4 separate regions of the Homo sapiens genome follow, and all the other regions are linked to region 1. The links are contacts of gene promoters, found by promoter capture Hi-C in blood cells and fetal thymus (Javierre and others, 2016). All regions are on one chromosome and are shown on one strand. Each heading gives the region's core, a stretch centred on a gene start or on the middle of the fragment in contact. The rest is flanking DNA. Distances are from core to core; before and after follow the strand shown.

Region 1 (3,253 bases), core at 593-3,092:
TACCAGATGTCCTTGGCTGTTCATTATAATAACACAGGGTCTGGCAACAGAGTGAGGGGTCCAGACTCAATGTAATTTTTTTTTCCCCTAAAAGGGCCCTTTCAACTCTTTCTGAGATCATACAAGCCCTGAGTTTTGACACCCAGGGTCTCAACTTCCTGAGCCCTTGCCTCTCAGAGTCCTAAATTTCCCCTGTACATTCCTGAGTCTGGCCAGTGATCACCCTCAGTCACTTAGGGACGGGAGGGCTGGGAGAGCCCTGGAAGATTCCAGACAGAAGCTGGCAAAAGCCCAGGGTGTGGGCAATATCCACTCTCCAGCCTCCGTTTCTCCACTCGTAATGAGGAGTCCTTCCCTGGGGTCAGCAAACCTTATTCAAAGGGAGACCTCTCAGTCACCCAAGATTCCTCTAGACAATGCGAGCTTTCCTACCTACCTACCTACCAGCTCTGAGCTTGGTACACCCAGAGCCCTGTTTTGGCAACCACGGTTATTATTTTTAATTTCATTTCAGGTTATCATCAAATGCCCTTCAAGCCCAGACATTGGGAAACACTCCTCTCTCATCAGATGCTCGCCTCCCCCATTCTGTTTTTAATCCCCCTTCTTAGGACGCATGGGGGTGGAGAGAACGGGGAGATAGACAGAGGGAGGTGCCTGGTCCTGCCCTCCCCCCGCCTCAAGGACAGACAGACACCTCCAGAATTAGCCTCTGTCCCTCCCTTATCTCCCACAATACCCCAGGTCAGACAGATGGGCGTGGAGGTGACATTTCTCACCTCAGGGTCAGGGCAAGGAGCCCTGAGGCAGAAGGTTAGTCAGAAAATCTGGCGGGGGCGGATGGAATCCCGTCCCCCAGAGAGCTGCAGAAGAAGGAGGAGGCAGAATCCTGACCCTACAAACTCTACTGCCTGTGTGAGCTCCAAGCCTCAGTTTACCCCTTCCTCTCCGTGTAATGGTTAAATGCCCGGCTATGCAAACCTCCCAGAATCCAATAGCCGCTTTCCGGAATTCTGCCCTGGGTTCTAGAACTACCTCTGCAAACCCAGCTGTTTCCCACCCCATAAGGCAATAGGGGAGCCCACCTCCGCCAGGGGGTGCCCTAGGGCGGATGTCCCTTCTCTGGTTAGGCAGGTCTGACGCCCAGGTTAATGACATGTTGGGTTCGCTCAGCGGCACAGAGGAGGTTGGAGATCTGCCTCGGTGTTTTCTCTCCTACCCCGCCCCCATCCCCGAGCCGAAAAGTCGGGGGAGAGCCGGGACACAGCCTCCGGAGGGACCCCGGGTACCTGTCCTGCTCCACTTCAGGAACCCAGGCTCCACTATCCCTGCCCCACCCTTAATTCTGCTCAGAGACCTAGAAGATCGGTCGAGACAGCAGCTTGAGGCTGGCAGGGTGGTCACCCATTCCACCTTGAGCCCCACCAGTCTGAGCCTCTCATTTCTGACCAAGACTCGGGGATTCGAACCCCTATACTACCCAAAGACTCGGCTTCCTAGAGCCCCCCAGTTCGAGGGACTCAGGAATTCCAGCTCCAACGTCTCCCCGGGATGAAGGGGTAGAATCCCTCCATTCCAAGAATTCAGGCATCCGAACCCGCTTTCCTTCCCTCCAGTAAAACAGGCAACGGAGTTTCCTTCTAAGGATCCAGGTGTCGGCGCGCCCCAAATTCCGCCCTGGGACCTGGCGTCCGAGTCCCCTCCCAATCCTCCCAGGGACGCGGGTGTTGGGCTTTTTCAGGGCCTCTGGTCCCCAGGAGGGTGAAACTCACGGATCCGGGCAGATCCTGGCACCTGGGGGCTTCCTCCAGCTCGGGCTCCGGCTTGGGGAGCGGAGAACGGGGCGGGGCAGGAGCTGGGAACAGGTTAGACGACGTGACTTGGGCTGGAGGGAGGCGGGTCCCGGTGGGGAGGGGGAGCCAAGGTCGCCTCGAGCACCTTGGGACTTGTAGTCCCGGAGGGACAGGACGTAGCCCAAGACGATCCCATTTGGATTCACCCAGAGTCCATTTCACAGACAGGAAGGGCGAGGCCCAGAAGCCGAGAGCGACCAGGCCAGGGAGATACAGAAGAGCCGAGACGCCTGCCTCGCTGTGGCTGGAGACTGACTCCTGAGCCCTTGCCCCACCCCTTCAGGCGCACTATCCCCTTTCCTGATCAGTATCCCCCAGGGTCTCTGAGCCCGAATCTCCCCGTCGATAAAAAGCGCGGGTTGGATCTTCAAAGGATGTCCCAGCAAGAGTTCAAAATCTTAGTTTGGACTACAACCCCCAGCAGCCTCCGCGACCGCCCTCGGGCGACTCTTTGCCTCGGGTCCTGTGGGAATTGTAGTCCTGGAGCCCGCAGGGGCTGCACCCCGGTGTCTCTCTCGCCCACGCGAAGGAAACCGTCTGGAGATCCTGGATAGGGGAAACATTTCCCCTTCCCCTTGACCCTCCCTCCGCTCTGGAAAGCCTCTCCCACCTGGGGAGAAGGGGTGCCCCAATTCTGGAGTAGGATCCTAAATCTTGGCAGAGGGGGCGGGAAGTGGCGCTGACACACTGGCCAGGAATGCAGTCGGGTCACCCTGTCTAGCCACCGTCTCGCGGCTCCAACCGCCGCCCAACGCGGGGCGGCCCCAGTGGGAAGGGAAGTGGGTGCGTCCCCCAAATCTGTGTCCACGTGCCGCTGTTTACACGCTCCCTGGGGCAGGGAGGAGTCGCCGATCAGGTCCCTTCCTGAAAGTCATCGAGGTTTCCCACGCATGAGACTAAACCCCCGAGGGCATCTACAAGTCCCATTTGATCCACAAACGCTACACCGTGCCCAGCACCACTCCACGCGTGTGGGGCTCCTGGGTCCGAGGCTCCGCCCTCGAGAACCACAAGCTCCTCCCCCTATGTTTCCCGCTCCCCCGGAGTCCAGAAGCCCCGCCCCTGGCTGGAACTTCACGCCCTCCGGACGGATTGCCCCTATTTCTCCATTTTCCCGCTTCTCCCAGTCAAGTTCTGAACTTGTGAGGCATCTGGGCCTCCCCAGAAGACATTTAACACAGAAAGCACAGCCCTACTAACTAGTATTCTTACCTGTCTCTTCAAGAATTTCAGACCAATCGACCGTCCTGTCTCTTTAAGGCTTAGGAAGAGCAGTGTGGCTGCCCCTTTAAGGAGGCGTTGCAACAAACCATATTGGACAGACGATGGGGGCGACCCATCGGGACCCGACGGGCCTCTGACTCCAGCAATACAGCGAATCAGCGGCTTTCGGGAATACA
Region 2 (3,407 bases), core at 446-2,945, 230 kb after region 1:
GTTTCACTCTTGTGGCCCAGGCCGGAAAGCAGTGGGGCAATCTCGGCTCACTGCAGCCTCTGCCTCCTGGGTTCAAGCGATTCTCCTGTCTCAGTCTCCCGAGTAGCTAGGTTTACAGGCACATGCCACCACACTCGGCTAATTTTTGTATTTTTAGTAGAGACAGGATTTCATCATATTGGTCAGGCTGGTCTCAAACTCCTGACCTCAGGTGATCTGCCCACCTCGGCCTCCCAAAGTGCTCAGATTACAGGCATGAGCCACCGCGCCCGGCCTGCTATTTTATTTCCTGTAAAGACGAGGTCTTGCTATGTTGCTCAGGCTGGTTTCAAACTCCTGGGTTCAAGTGATCCACCCACCTCGGCCTCCCAATGTGCTGAGTTAGTGTTTTATCAGTCCCTGTGCATGGGGCACATACTATGAGCTCAGTACCTTTACACATTATTTCACAGGTCTATGGACCTGAGATCATAAAATTCATTTTTCAGAGTCAAGACGACTTTTCCAGGGTCACACGGCCAGGTACGGGCTGGACTGGGGTTTGAACCCATCTCTGTCAGACTCCAGAGCCCGGGCTTCCAGCCATTCCCAACTCTTTTTGCTCAAATGCACCAATCCCACTCTGGCCACATAGCCCTTGAACGTGCTGTGCTTGTTTTGTGTGTTGCCCAGGCAGGTCTCAAACTCTTGGCCTCAAACGATCCTCCCAAAGTGCTGAGATTACAGGCCTGAGCTGCCTTGACCGCCTTTCTATTTCCTCCTGGGGGGATGGGAGCACCAAGGAGATTCCAGCAAAAGGATACACCCACTCCAGCTTGAGCCGGCAAGAAGGCAGCTCCGAGCGTGTGTCCAGGCTGTAGGTGGGTGCCAGCTCGTCTGGGATCATCATGGGCACAGGGCGGCCCCTCAGGAACATTTTCACGGAGCCATCCTCTGCCAGGACACCCCCAGAGGTCAGGCACTGACACCAGCCCCATCCCTATTCCCTCTCCTCTTCCAGCTTTATTTATTTATTTTTTTAAAGGCAGGGAAACTGAGGCCAGAGAGGCAAAGACCCAGTAGCCAAGACTCCTGACCTCTGGCTCCAGCCTGTCACCCCAACAAGCAAGCTTCCACCGAGCCCTTCCCCATCTCCCCACTCACCCACACTGAAGATAACTTCTTTGGTTTTGCTGTCAGGAAAGGACAAAGAAAAAAAAAGGGTCTTAGTATTCAGTTCAGAAAAGGGGAGAAACCATTCCTCCACCCCCACCGCTCCCCGGAGGTCTCCGATGAAAACGGGGCCGAGTAAGGGGCAGAGCGCTGCCTCTCTGCAGGCCGTGTGCTTTGCTCGGTTGATCTTGCAGAGCCTAAGACACAGGCCCAGAGAGGCAGTGATCGCCAAAGATCACACAGCACGAAGTGGCAGGGACGCGATCCTGGAAGAAGGGAGTCACCAAGGACCCTTCCCTCCTAATCAGCAAGGTGCTCCCCAGCGCCCCCCACCCGCAGTTCCCCCAGCACACCAAACGTCAAGCAGAGGGAGAAACGGGGAGAGTTTAAGGGAAGGGGCGTGTCCCCACGCCGGTCTGGGTCCCAGGGGTTGGGTGAAACCTGAGATCTAAGCCCCGGGAGCGCGGAGAGGAGATGGGGGGTGGTCTGCGAAAGGGTCTCACCCAGCTCCAAAGCTACTCATGGCGGCGGGTGGCGGAGCTTCGGGGCCGGGGGTGGAGCCGGGACCGGCTCTGCCGCTTCCGGCCCTGGGAGGCGCCCGGGCCGCCGCGCCCCTGCCCCGCCCTCCACAGCCACCCCTGGAGCCGGAGGGTCCCACCGGGTCACACATCCCGGGCTGTGGACTCCCGATCCCAGGTTCTTTCGGGGTGGGTGGGGGAGAGTGGTTGAGAACATGGACTCGGGAGCGCGCCTGCTTGAGTTAAAACCCCAGTTCTGCTAATTCCTAGCAGTGTACACAGGTCGTCCAACCTCTGCCTCGGTTTCCTCATTTAAAAAATGGGGATAATAAGAGTACCCGGCCGGGCGCGGTGGCTCATGCCTGTAATCCCAGCACTTTGGGAGGCCGAGGCGGGCAGATCACCTGAGGTCAGGAGTTCAAGACCAGCCTGGCCAACGTGGTGAAACCCCGTCTCTACTAAAAATACAAAACTTAGCCTGGCGTGGTGGCTGGCGCCTGTAATCCCAGCTACTTGGGAGGCTGAGGCAGGAAAATCATTCGAACTCGGGAGGCAGAGGTTACAGTGAGCTGAGATTGTGTCATTGCACTCCAGCCTGGGCAACGAGAACAAGACTCCGTCTCAAAATAAATAAATAAATAAGAGTACTCACACCTCCCGGGGGTAGTTGCGAGGGTGAAATTGGTTAATTATTGGGAAGTGCCTGGAGTATACACAACGCTGTATTTGTGTTTGCTATGTTTGAGCAGAGTTGAAATGTGCAGCTTTTGACCTTGGTCTTGCCCTTGCGTGGCCTCCTAGCGCTGACCACGCCCACTGCACCATAACTCCAGCCTTAGGGTGATTTTTGTTTTGTTTTGTTTTTGATACAGGGTGTGGCTCTGTCGACCAAACTGGAGTGCAATGGCGTGATCATGGCTCACTGAAACCTCGAATTTCCTAGGCTTAAGTGAGCCTCCTGCCGCAGCCTCCCAAGTAGCTGGGTCTACAAGCGAAGGCCAGCACGCCCGGCTATTTTCTTTCTCTCTCTTTTTTTTTTTGTTTTTTGTTTTTTGTTTTTTGTTTGTTTGTTTAACGGAGTCTTGCTCTGTCAGCAGGCTGGAGTGCAGTGGCGCGATCTCAGCTCACTGCAACCTCCGCCTCCCGGGTTGAAGTGATTCTCCTGCCTCAGCCTCCCGAGTAGCTGGGACTACAGGCACGCGCCACCACGCCCATTTTTGTATTATTAATAGACAGGGGGTTTCACCATGTTGGCCAGGATGGTCTCGATCTCTTGACCTTGTGATCCACCCGCCTAGGCCTCCCGAAGTGCTGGGATTACAGGCGTGAGCCACCGCGCCAGGCCTAATTTATTTTCATTTTTAGTAAAGACGAGGGCTCGCTATTTTGCCCAGCCTGGTCTCGAACTCCTGAGCTCAAGCGATGATTCCCGCCTCCGCCTCCCAAACTGCTAGAATTATATAGCCTTAGTTTTTGACTCTGTCCAGATCTTCAGTATGGCCCCGCCTCTGGAGTTGACCACGCCTGTCATTCTGAGCCTCCCTTCTAACCCTGTCCCTGAGTTGACTCAGTTGCTTGAGAATTGACTGCTACCTCCCGCCAACGCTCCTTCTCCGGCCCGCCAGGCATTCTGATTACGTCCATTTTCACGTATTCCTTATGTGAATACCTTCGAGGCCTCCAAGTTGGCTGCACCTCTTGGCATTTGACCACGCCCCTACGGCCCCGCCCAACCTT
Region 3 (3,180 bases), core at 573-3,072, 150 kb before region 1:
TGTGTTGCTCATAGTATCAAGCAGTGCTGTGCTTTCACAACCAGCTTTTGGCTGAGTGCAGGGTAGTCCCAGCACTTTAGGAGGCCGAAGTGGGAGGATCGCCTGAGCCTGAGAGTTGGAGATCAGCCTGGGCAATATGGCTACAAAAAATTAGCTGGGCGTGGTGGTGCACACCTGTAGTCCCAGTGACTTGGTGGGGCTGAGCTGGGAGGATTGCTTGAGCCGGGGATGTCCAGGCTGCGGTGAGCCATAATCGTGCCACTGCACTCTAGCCTGGGTAATGCAGTGAGACCCTGTCTCAAAAACAAAACAAAGCAAAGCAAAACAAAACACCCCCAGCTCTCTGCAGGTGGGGGTGTGGAGCCTTAATTTGTAGCATTTGCCAATTTCCATGGTGTAAATATTCCCACCATGGCTAATTTCAAGCTACCAAGGTGATATCACATGGCATTTTTGCCCCCCATTATATAGTAATTTTACTGTGCAGCTACAATAGACGTAGGTAACCTCAAGATCACAGATAATGGCAAATGTAGTAAGATAACTAGGACGTGATGAGTATGTATTACTTGTACCTTTAATGTAATTTAATTGTATGTTTGCATAATTTAATTTTTAATAATGGCTGTGTTTAACAACCAGTTCCAAAATTCCTGAGACATAACAATCAGCTCGCTCCAGCCAGATCCAGCACACTGCTGTTTTAGAAGGGGAAACTGAGGCTCAGGAAAATAAGCCTCAGATAGAAGAAGGCAGGGCACAGACCCCTTCCCAAAACCATGTGACTCCCAGGCCAAGACTATGTAATGCCTGTCTTTCTTTCATCCCACCCTGGTCCACAGAGCATGGATGGTCCCCACAGCGCTGTGTGGCCTCCGAGAGGCTCTTGTCCTCTCTGGTCTCAGCCTGCCCGCATGGGGAGTGGCTGTGCCCTGCAGGCGAATACCTGCACAGGGTTCCTTCGCACCTGCCAGTGAGCAACACACGGATTCTTCCTTTCACTTTACAAACTGGGAAAGTGAAGCCCAGAAAGGGCAAGTGCTTGCCCCGGGTCATACAGGTGGACAGAGAGGGTCCCCACACCCCAGCTGGGGTGCAAAGGAGTGGATGCTGCAGCCCCAACCTGCGGGTCTGGATCTATGTGGCTGAGTGGAGGCAGCCTGACTAGGGAGGTCACTGAGCCCTCAGCAGTGGCCAAGCCCCGCACACCATCCCCTTCACCCACCCCACCCTTAGGCCTCCGAGGGGAGAGCTTCCCCCGCTCCCCCCCGCCAACTGGGGAGAGAATGGGCCAGGGGGAGGGACAATGTGGGCAGCGCCTCTGGGGTCTTCTCTGGCTCAGTCCCTTTATCTCTATCTCTTCACAGATCTCTGCGTCTCTGTATCTCTTTGTCTCTCCCTGTGTGTGTGTGGGGTCTCTCTCAGTCTTTGTCCCTCTGCGTCTCTGGGTCTCTCTGTCTCTGTCTCCCTGCGTCTCTCTCTCTCTGTCATCTGGCTCTTCCTTCATCTCCTTGCGCCTCTCCACCCTTTTGTAACTCGTCTCTCTCTCTTCGTGTCTCTCTATCTCTACGTCTCTCGATCTCTCTCTCTGCGTCTCTGGCGCTCTGCCCCGGCCTCTCTCTCCCCTTCTCTCCTCTCCAGTGCGCCTCTCGTCTCGGGCGAGAACACGCTCCCCGCCGGCGTGCCCAGACCCGCCTCCGCCCCCGGAGCCCCCGGAGCCCCCGGCGCCCCGACCAGCCCGGGCCTGCGCCTTTAAGGGCCGGCGGCGGGGGGCGGGGTCCCGGCGCCCCGCCCTGCCCGCCCCTCCCCCTGACGTCCCTTCCTCCCTCCCCAGCCCCTCCACCGCCTCCCTCCGCCGCCGCTTGGGCCGGCTCCGCGCCCCCTCCGCGGCCCCCGCCCGCCCGCCTGCCCGCCGCCCCCATGGCGCCCGGGGTCCCCGCTGCACGGGGCCACTAGGACCCTCGGCGTCCCTTCCCCTCCCCCGCCCTGCCCCCTCTCCCGCCGCGCGGACCCGGGCGTTCTCGGCGCCCAGCTTTTGAGCTCGCGTCCCCAGGCCGGCGGGGGGGGAGGGGAAGAGAGGGGACCCTGGGACCCCCGCCCCCCCCACCCGGCCGCCCCTGCCCCCCGGGACCCGGAGAAGATGTCTTCGCGGACGGTGCTGGCCCCGGGCAACGATCGGAACTCGGACACGGTGAGTGGGGCCCGGCCCCTTGGGGAGCCCTGGCTGGGTCCAGCCGCCAAACCCTTCTCCCCGTTGTACCCCTCGCCCCGCGAGCCCCTACCCTCGTTTCCTGGGCCCGACCCGGCTCGTCACCTCTCGACCCCTCCCGGACTTCCAGGCCTCTCCACCCTCCCCACCTTTTCCAGCCCAGCCCGACCCCTGGGGGCGCCCCTCTCTCGGGACCCCTCTCTTGTCCCCGTGCAGACCGCTTCCGCTCGGGTCTGTTCCCTCCAGGAAGCCCCTTCCCCTGCTTCCAGGAGCCCCTCCCTTCTCTTGCCTGTGCTAAGCCGTTTCCCCTCCAGGCCGTCCGCGTCCGACACCTCGCCCCCTCCCGGATTTGCAGGGCCCCTGACCCCCCAAGGCCCGGCCCTGGCACTCTCAGCAGGGCCTGGCCCAGTCCTGCCTCTGGCTCCGGCCTTCCCTGTCTGGGGCTGGGTGCCGGCTCCCCAGGAGCCCCCCTCCTCTTATTCCCAGCCCTCTGCCCCTCCAGGACGCACCCAGGGCGCCTGTGGGCAGCCCCTGGCAGGAAGCTGGTTTCCACCTCTCCTGGGCCCCGGCCCTTTTCTGGCTTCTTCAAGGTCTCTCCCGTCCCAGGCCTGGTCCCCATCTTCCAAGCAGCCCTGTCCCTAGATCCCAGCACCCCGGGGCCCCCAGATGCCACCTGGACCCTTTCTGGTCTCTTCCTCTCCCAGGAAGCCTTGGCCTCCAACTTCTAGGCCCTCACCTCACCCAGGCTGGTATTTCTAGGCCCTGGACCAGTCTGACTCCAGGCCTCATCCGCCCTCTATCAACTTCTCAGCTTCAGGCAGCCCCTTCCCCAACCCCCAACCTCTGGACCCCCTGCTAGGCCAAACTCAGACCCCTTCCCCACAAACCACCGTCCTTTCTCCTGCCCCAGGGCCTCCCCCTTCCTTGCTGGGAGTCTGGCCTTCCAAGGAAGCCCCCTCCTCAGCTTCAGA
Region 4 (3,191 bases), core at 634-3,133, 150 kb after region 1:
AGTCCCTTGAGTAACTGGGACTACAGGTATGCCTGGCTAATATTTTTTTTTTTTTTGAGATGGAGTCACACTCTGTCGCCCAGGCTGGAGTGCAGTGGCGCGATCTCGGCTCACTGCAAGCTCCGCCACCCGGGTTCACACCATTGTCCTGCCTCAGCCTCCTGAGTAGCTGGGACTACAGGCGCCCGCTACCACGCCCAGCTAATTTTTTTATATTTTTAGTAGAGATGGGGTTTCACCGTGTTAGCCAGGATGGTCTCGATCTCCTGACCTCGTGATCCACCCACCTCGGCCTCCCAAAGTGTTGGGATTACAGGCGTGAGCCACCGTGCCTAGTCATTTTTGTATTTTTTTTAAAATAGAGATGGGGTTTATCAGTATGTTGCCTAGGCTGGTCTTGAACTCCTGGGCTCAAGTGATCTGGCTGCCTCGGCCTCCCAAAGTGCTGGGATTGCAATCGTGAGCCACTATGCCTGGCCTATATATATATATCTTTAAACCAGACATTGGTAGGCATCAAATCATTATTGTATGCGAACTGCAATAAATATGAAGGGAAGGATGCACCAGCTGTTTGAACATGTCAGTATCATAACACACCAGAACCAGAAATTCCATCCTTCACAACTACTTAAGGTTAATGAAGAAAAGTTTTACTTGTCAACTTGAAAATGCACTAGAGGGCACACAATTTATTTTTTCTTTTTCTGAGACAGGATCTCGTTCTGTTGCCCAGGCTGGAGTGCTGTGGAACAATCTCAGCTCACTGCAACCTCTGCCTCCCAGGCTCGAGTCATCTTCCCACCTCAGCCTCCTGAGTAGCTAGGACAACAGGTGCATGCCACCATGCCTGGCTAATTTTATTTTTTTTGGGTAGAGATGGGGTCTTGCCATATTCCATCTTATTTATTTATTTATTTAACAGATGGGCTCTCACTCTGTGGTCCAGGATGGAAGGCAGCGGCTCCATCACAGTTCACTGCAACCTCGAACACCTAGACTCAAGCAATTCTCCTGCCTCAGCCTCTGGAGCCGCTAGAACTATAGATGCCCCACCATGCCTGGCTGTTTTTAAATTGTTTTTTGGTAGAGACTGGGTCTTGCTATGTTGCCAAAGCAGGTCTTGAACTCCTGGGCTCAAGCAATCATCCTGCCTCAGCCTCCCAAAGTACTGGGACGACAGGAGACAGCCACTGAGCCCAGCCACTACACATTTTTCATCTTCAAAGGGGTGGGGTGGCAGGAAGGCTTGGGGAGCTCTGCTGGAGCTGGAGGGAAGACCTGAGGTGCAAGCTTAGGGCCCGAGAAGTCACTGTCACTGTCACTGTCAGCTGCTGCAGTTACTGTTACAGCTGTGACTTAGGCCCTGGGCTTGTGGGTTCCTGGGGTCCAGGCTGTGGAGACCCCTCCCACACTGAGGTCTTAGGGTCAGGCTGATCTGGGGTCCCCCCGGGGCTCCGCCACCTGCTGCCTGAGCAATGACAGCCTGCCCCAAGGCCCCTCTGTAACACAGGAAGGACAGCATCATCCTGACAATGACACTCGCCAGACCTGGTGGTGGCCCAGAGCTGGGCCCGTAACTGTCACTGCCTCCTTCATGTCAGGGACACCTAGCACAGTGGCCAGAGAGTGGTGAGGGGTGAGGGTTCCAGATCCTCTAGCCTTCCTGGGTGAGGTTCCCAGCGTGGAAATGCAAGTGTCTCAGTGCAGACCAAGCATGGGGATCTGGGCCAGCAGGTGGGTCTAGGTGTGCCAATGGGAGTGGGCACATACCCAGGCCACAGGAAATCAAATCAAGAGGGTGTGTGTGTGTGTGCACGCGTGTGTGCACGCAGGCATGGGCTTTCAGGGCTTTCAGAGCAGGGGCCGACGGCATTCTCCCTCGGGCCAGCGGTCAGATGTGGGGTTCAGGAAACAAGGCCCAGGTGGGGATGAATCACAGGGCTGTGATTCTAGAAGGGACAGCTGTGAGGGGCCGGGACAGGCTAAGCTGGAGGACTCACCAGACTTGCGGGGGTCAACACGCTCCAGATGTCTCCTAGACCTCTCACACTCAGCACATCCAAACCTGAACCCAGCACCTGGCCCCACACCTGTCCCCTGGCTAGAGACGGGGGCCTCAGCCCAGCTGTTCCCCTTCTCCCACAGCCTCTCAGCTGCGTGTCGGGTCCATTCTGCATCTTGAACATCTCTCCCAGTGGATTCCCTTCTGCTGTCCTGGTCCAGGATCCATCCCAGCTCTGACCAACGTTCTCCTCCCTGACCTCCTGAATAGGAGGAATACAGCCTGTCTATCCCCTTCTGAGTGCCTATCACAACCAGGAATAGTGGCTATCCAGTTACCTGTCTGCAATCAGTCTCCCCACTGTCCTGTAAGCCTCACAAGGGTGGGGCCCAGGGCTGTCACAGTCACTGCTGTGTCCCCAGCACTGCCCAGTGCCAGGCCAGGCACACGCATGATGCTCATTAGATCTAAGCTTAACACATAAGTGAGTCCCGCCTCCAGCCTCCTTCCCACCTGCCGGCCCCAGCCTCACCCCTCTGCAATTGTCCCCCACGCAGCAATCAGAAGGAATTGGTGAGAAGAAAAGAACAAACTGGCTGGGCGCGGTAGCTCAGGCCTTTAATCCCAGCGCTTTGGGAGGCTGAGACAGGCAGATCATGAGGTAAGGAGTTCAAGACCAGCCTGGCCAACATGGTGAAACCCATCTCCAGTAAAAATACAAAAAATTAGCGGGGCGTGGTGGGAGGCCCCTGTAATCCCACCTACTCGGGAGGCTGAGACAGGAGAATCGCTTGAACCCAGGAGGTGGAGGTTGCCGTGAGCCAAGACCACGCCACTGCACTCCAGCCTGGGCAACAAGAGCAAGACTGTCTCAAAAAAAGAAAAGAAAAGAACAAACCTACCATTCCCCGTCGCCCCACCCCCAACTCCTGCCGCAAATAAAAGTAACACATGGCAAGAAAACAAAGTACTCAAACTATAAAATGTAAAGCCAAAGTCCCCTCCTCAGAGGAACCCTCAACTACTGCGGTCGCCAGCCTGTTTTCCCCTAGCGCCATCTCCTGGACAGCCCATAGTAAGCATACCTCACTCATTTCTGAGCTCTTCAACTGGAGGTTTGTTCAGATCTACGCCATCGTTACCTACTCATAATCCAGCCCCACTATGAAAGGTGAGCACTCTGCCC

The links. Contacts are between HindIII fragments. The CHiCAGO score rates a contact against its expected background, and 5 or more counts as called.
Region 2: a contact is called between the fragment with the promoter of EML2 here and the fragment with the promoter of PPP1R13L in region 1, in 8 of 17 cell types (naive B cells, total B cells, endothelial precursors and 5 more). The highest score is 10.7, in naive B cells.
Region 3: the fragment with the promoter of MARK4 here is called in contact with the fragment with the promoter of PPP1R13L in region 1 in 1 of 17 cell types (M1 macrophages); the score reaches 5.1 in M1 macrophages.
Region 4: a contact is called between a fragment that was not itself captured here and the fragment with the promoter of PPP1R13L in region 1, in 2 of 17 cell types (monocytes and naive B cells). The highest score is 6.5, in monocytes.

The regions. Positions count from the first base shown.
Region 1 is chr19:45,403,227-45,406,479 of GRCh38, forward strand. PPP1R13L (protein phosphatase 1 regulatory subunit 13 like) reads right to left here and starts at 1,843. Exons shown (of 13, transcript NM_006663.4): 1 at 1,773-1,843. RefSeq lists enhancers at 1,729-2,524, 2,495-2,694. The HindIII fragment of the contact is 7,528 bases long and covers 1-3,253 here.
Region 2 is chr19:45,637,702-45,641,108 of GRCh38, forward strand. EML2 (EMAP like 2) reads right to left here and starts at 1,696. Exons shown (of 19, transcript NM_012155.4): 1 at 1,656-1,696; 2 at 1,144-1,172; 3 at 804-933. The coding sequence starts at 1,675. MIR330 (microRNA 330) reads right to left here and starts at 1,386; the gene lies at 1,293-1,386. RefSeq lists enhancers at 522-1,373, 610-904, 1,374-2,225 and silencers at 610-904, 1,601-1,880, 1,901-1,990. The HindIII fragment of the contact is 2,349 bases long and covers 1,108-3,407 here.
Region 3 is chr19:45,249,449-45,252,628 of GRCh38, forward strand. It overlaps MARK4 (microtubule affinity regulating kinase 4), which reads left to right and starts at 1,823. Exons shown (of 17, transcript NM_001199867.2): 1 at 1,823-2,191. The coding sequence starts at 2,141. RefSeq lists silencers at 1,498-1,877, 2,108-2,257 and an enhancer at 2,731-3,180. The HindIII fragment of the contact is 10,557 bases long and covers 1-3,180 here.
Region 4 is chr19:45,555,453-45,558,643 of GRCh38, forward strand. The region is part of intron 1 of OPA3 (outer mitochondrial membrane lipid metabolism regulator OPA3); the gene reads right to left. Among named protein-coding and RNA genes, the nearest start is that of OPA3, 28 kb to the right of the region's middle. RefSeq lists an enhancer at 2,577-3,077. The HindIII fragment of the contact is 1,184 bases long and covers 1,292-2,475 here.